Regions from separate parts of the Homo sapiens genome. Here region 1 is linked to region 2. The links are contacts of gene promoters, found by promoter capture Hi-C in human tissues and cell types (Jung and others, 2019). All regions are on one chromosome and are shown on one strand. Each heading gives the region's core, a stretch centred on a gene start or on the middle of the fragment in contact. The rest is flanking DNA. Distances are from core to core; before and after follow the strand shown. Region 1 overlaps SLC5A4-AS1 (SLC5A4 antisense RNA 1). Region 2 holds the start of BPIFC (BPI fold containing family C).

Evidence for each region. Contacts are between HindIII fragments. The study calls those that stand out against the background at their distance.
Region 1: a contact is called between a fragment that was not itself captured here and the fragment with the promoter of BPIFC in region 2, in 1 of the 25 tissues and cell types used here (H1 embryonic stem cells).

Annotation. Positions count from the first base shown.
Region 1 is chr22:32,268,597-32,271,348 of GRCh38, forward strand. It overlaps SLC5A4-AS1 (SLC5A4 antisense RNA 1), which reads left to right. Exons shown (of 4, transcript NR_149072.1): 4 at 761-2,752. It also overlaps a transcript of SLC5A4 not described here and the pseudogene CPSF1P1. Among named protein-coding and RNA genes, the nearest start is that of SLC5A4, 15 kb to the left of the region's middle. The HindIII fragment of the contact is 4,471 bases long and covers 1-2,752 here.
Region 2 is chr22:32,463,058-32,465,757 of GRCh38, forward strand. It overlaps BPIFC (BPI fold containing family C), which reads right to left and starts at 1,389. Exons shown (of 17, transcript NM_174932.3): 1 at 1,317-1,389. The HindIII fragment of the contact is 9,351 bases long and covers 1-2,700 here.

The DNA.
Region 1 (2,752 bases), core at 192-2,691, 190 kb before region 2:
TTTGCTCTCAGCCCATCAATGGCCCTGAGAAAGTAGCCATTCAAAATGTTCTCCATTAAATATGGGCATAGGCTGAATTCTGGCACCTGAAATATTTATGCCCCCAAACCATAGTTGAATATAGACTAGAGATGACTAGAGATTTTGAAGGTAATGTAATAGTTAGGTCGTGCTCTAGGCCTGTGCTGTCTAATGTGGTAGTCGCCATTGGCTGCAGAGCCCTTAAATGTGGTTAGTGTCCTCTGTGAAAATGATAATAATTTGGGATATACAGGCTTATAATATACTATTTAAAGTATTTTTTGCATTTTTTCTCTTGAGACAGAGTTTCGCTCTTTCGCCCAGGCTGAGTGCAGTGGTGTGATCTCGGCTTACTGCACGCTCTGCCTTCTGGGTTCAAGCGATTCTGCCTCAGCCTCCTGAGTAGCTGGGACTGCAGGAGCATGCCACCACACCGGGCTAATTTTTATATTTTTAGTAAACACAGGGTTTTGCCATGTTGGCCATGGCGGTCTCGAACTCCTCACCTTGTGATCTGCCCACCCTGGCCTCCCAAAGTGCTGGGATTACAGGCGTGAGCCACCACGAGCGGCTGCATGTTTTTTATTACTTTTTTAGCATGTCTACAGGAAAATTTAAAATTATACATGTGGCTGTCATATTTCTTTGGGTGTAGCACTGACCTAAAACATAACTTCTCAAGCTTGTTTATATTAAATCACCTGGAGATCTTTTAAAAATCCGTATTTTGATTCCATAGGAGTGGGCTGGCCTGTCCTGTAGAAGCTACCTCATCGATGTGCAGGCCCTGGATGAGAAGCTGCTCATCATCATCGCCCTGCAGTTCCTGCACGGCTACTACAAGCCCATCCTGTTCGAGCCCAACCAGACCTGGCCCGGGCACGTGGCTGTGTGGCAGGACACGTGCTCCATCGTGGCCATCTTGCTAACATCACGCAGAAGGTGCACCCCGTCATCTGATCTCTCACCAGCTACCCTTTGACTGCACCCAGGCTCTGGCCGTACCCAAGCCCATAGGTGGGGTGGTGGTCTTTGTCGTCAGCTCGCTGTTATACCTGAACCAGAGCATTCCCCCGTACGGTGTGGCTCTCAGCAGCCTCACCACAGGCACCGCAGCTTTCCCGCTGTGCACCCAGCTGGGTGTGTGAATCCCCCTGGACTGCGCCCAGGCCACCTTCATCTCCCATGACAAGATGGTCATCTCCCTCAAGGGCAGTCAGATCTACATGCTGACCCTCATCACCGATGGCATGCGTAGCGTCCGAGTGTTCCACTTTTGACAAGGCGGCCACCAGCGTCCTCACCACCAGCATGGTCACCATGGAGCCTGGGTACCTGTTCCTGAGTTCTTGCCTGGGCAACTCTCTCCTCCTCAAGTACACCGAGAAGCTTCAGGAGCCCCCGGCCAGTGCTATCTGTGAGGCTGCTGACAAGGAAGAGCCTCCCTCACAGAAGAAGCGAGTGGACACATGGCCAGCTGGTCAGCCAGGGACAAATCCGTGTCACAGGACGACATGGACGAGATTGAAGTGTACGGCAGCGACGCCCAGTCGGGCACACAGCTGGCCACCTACCTTTGAGGTGTGTGACAGCATCCTTAACATTGGACCCTGCACCAATGCTGCCATGGGTGAGCCTGCCTTCCTGTCTGAAGAGTTTCAGAACAACCCTGAGCCGGACCTGGAGATTGTGGTTTGCTCCAGCCACAGGAAGAATGGGGCTCTGTCGGTGCTGCAGAAGAGCATCCAGCCCCAGGTGGTGACAACCTTTGAGCTTCCCGGCTGCTACGACATGTGGACAGTCATCGCCCTGGTGCCTAAGGAGGAGAAAGAGAATCCCAAGGGGGAGGGCACGGAGCAGGAACCCAGCACCCCCGAAGCGGACAATGACCACCGCAGACAGTGATTCCTGATTCTGAGCCAGGAAGACTCAACCATATTCCCGCAGATGGGGCAGGAGATCATGGAGCTGGACACCAGTGGCTTTGCCACGCAGGGCCCCACGGTCTTTGCCGAAAACATCGGGGACAACCACTACATTGTCCAAGTGTCGCTGCTGGGCATCCACCTGCTGGAAGGAATGAATCAGTTGTACTTCATCCCTGTGGGCCTGGTCACCCGCAACATGCAGTGCACTGTAGGCAACCCCTGCGTGGTCATCATGAGTGCCGACGGCCGCGTCACCATGTTCCTGCTGAAAAGCACACTCCTATAGTGGCTGCCACGACCACCTGGTGCTGCACAAGCCCCCGCTGCACCATCAGCCCAACGTGATCACGCTGTGCCTGTACCGAGACCTCAGTGGCATGTTCACCACTGAGAGCTGCCTGAGCGGGGCTCACGATGAGCTAGGGGGCCACAGTGGCTTGGAGGCCGAGAGCCTGGGCTCGGAGACTAGCCCCACAGTCGGTGATGAGGAAATGCTGTGTGGGGATTTGGGATCCCTCTTCAGTCCCAGCAAGGAGGTGGCCCGAAGAAGCAGCCAGCCCCTGCCGACTGGGACTCTGTACCCTTCCAGACAGAGCCCATCCACTGGTGCCTGCTGTTGCAGGAGAATGGCACCATGGTGACCTGCCAGCTCCCCGACTGGCGGCTGGTGTTCTTGGTGAAGAACTTCCCTGTGGGGCAGCGGGTCCTCATGGACAGCTCCTTTGGAGAGCCCACCACACAGGGCGAGGCCCGCAGGGAGGAGGCCATGTGCCAGGAGGAGCTGCCTCTCTCGTCAAGGAGGT
Region 2 (2,700 bases), core at 139-2,638:
TGGTACACTTTGATGGAGATCCAGGAATCCAAAATTACAGGCAGGAAAACATATTTTTCCTCTAGAAATTTTATGAGTGAAAGAAATTACTGGGGTATGAAGGGGTGAATTGTACATAACTTTTCATTGAATTGTTCAGTTACGATGATAACTTATGGGCAGGGGAGGAAAGGAACCTTGTCAAGCAAGGTGATGACTACTAAAAGGTTAAGTAATTTGGCTGACAAGTGCAGGCAGGGCTAGTTGCCTGTTAAAAGGATCCAAGATCACTTAAAAACCCCACCAGCAAGTTATCTATTTTGTTGCTTCTGGGGAATTGCTTCTTTCCAAGATTCAAAATCTCAGTAGTCATTATTTTTCCATACAAATACACAGACAGAATAATACTCCTAAATTAAATGGTCCTTGTGTGAGTCATCCTGACAGCTAAGAAAATGCCAGTCCAATTTAGAAAACACCTGAAACTCACAGATGGTCCTACTACTACTGCTGCTTGGCAAGAGCTTTGACTGACTCTGGAAAAACCGATTAAGGGAGTAATGAATGAGTAAAATGTAGCCTTCAAAACAGAGGCGCAGGTTGAAAAATTAAGTTCAACAGGTTTAAAGAAGTCTAAACTAGAAGGGTATTCCGACATATTGGTTAAGACAAAATGACCGTACATAAGAAGTCTAAATCGACAGGTATGGAACGTGGGCAGAATATTTCAAGGGATCCACTCCTCACATCTAGTTTTATAGCAACATCTCTAATGACAAGGACCTTGAGAATTCATAGCATGTCTTTTCCCCAAAACTCTATGCCTAACACCAACAAGTTCAACAGTCCAGGCAAGTGGGTGGCTAGTTTTGCTCTGGCAGGATCTAGGTCACTGATGTGCTTTAAGACCTGCCTTGAAAGCACAGAGATTATAACAACTCCTTAGTCCTAACCATGCTGATTTTGAGAGACAAGATAGAATTTTCTGCCACTGTGCTGGGTTCCCCTCTGAAATGGAGGCAAAAATAAGTCCAGATCACTGAGCAACCCTCTTAACATTGTTCCATGATGCAAAACTAAGTAGGTGGTTTAAACCAACTCTTTTCTCTCTTATGGCTGTTTAGCTGTCACTAAAGCTTTTGCCTAAGAAGCCTCCAGGTGCGCATATGTGACATCACACAAACAAACAAACAAAGATACAGAAAAATCTAGGCAGACAATAATAATAACCCAGGATATATGACAGCTGCCTGTTCAAAGTGTCCTACCAAATCTGGGACATCTCCAGTTTGGAGATCATGGCTGGCAGAGACCTGAAGTTTGTTCATGAGTCTTACCTCAAGCAGAGGAAGTGTCCAAAGCTGGAGAGCACCTTCGATTCTCTCTGCCTTTGAAGCTGATGTGTTCTCCACCTTGCGCCTTAAACTCAGCTGCTAAAAAGCCAAGATAATTAAGTCTGACTCATCTCAGTGGTGAATTTTTTTAATGCCTCTTTCAAAATGTGATACATAATTGCTTCACTACAATTACCCAATGGCATGAATGAGCACTACAGTATCTACCTAGATAAACAGACAGTGCCACCTATGCAATAATTATCTTCCTGCAAAACACACACACACACACACACACACACACACACACACCACTTGTGAAATTGTGATGGCTACTTTACCAAAATGATTGAAAACGGTGTTAAACTGCATTGGAAGAGGAAGAATTTTCCTGTCTGGAATCATAAGCTGGTTCCTTCTGGTCAGGGTGCCTGCGGTGGATGGCTCTACTACTGCCCAGAATACCTTTGGGACTTGTGGTGGATCATCAGATTCAGTCTGAAAGCATGAGGCTTGACAATCGGGCTGACCTAGTTACCTTATCACTCAGGGTAGGACCTCAGTTGGCATCTCTCAGTGTCCGTCCGCTCCTTTTCAGAATGTTATTAATGACTTACTGTTCCAGCATTCCTTAAACCTAAGTTGGGTGGGTGGGTTCATCAACTATTATGCAACTTAACATTTTCAGATTCCAAACTCCAGCCCTACTCTCATCTCCAATAAATTCATTTTAGTTAATGTGTTTTATCTATTTTTATTTTTATTTATTTATTTTTTGAGATGGAGTCTCACTCTGTCACCCAGGCTGGAGTGCAGTGGAGCGATCTTGGCTCACTGCAACCTCCGCCCCCTGGGTTCAAACAATTCTCCTGCCTCAGCCTCCCTAGTAGCTGGGATTACAGGAGTGCGCTACCACGCCCAGCTAATTTTTTGTATTTTTAGTACAGACAGGGTTTCGCTGCATTGGCCAGGCTGGTCTCGAACTCCTGACCTCATGTGATTGATCCACCCGTGTTGGCTTCATAAGTGCTGGGATTACAGATGTGAGCCATCATACCCGGCCATTAATGTATTTTAGATGGCCAGGGATTTGATTGTATGAAGTTTTTTTTTTTGTTTTTTGGTTTTTTTTTTTTTGAGACAGTCTCACTGTCACCCAGGCTGGAGTGCAGTGGCATGATCTTGGCTCACTACAACCTCTGCCTCCAGGGTTTAAGCGATTCTTGTGCCTTAGCCCTCTGAGTAGCTGGAATTACAGGTGTGCACCACCAAACTTGGCTAATTTTTGTATTTTTAGTAGTGATGGGGTTTCACCATGTTGGCCAGGCTGGTCTTGAACTCTTGACCTCAAGTGATCCACCTGCCTTGGCCTCCCAAAGTCCTGGGA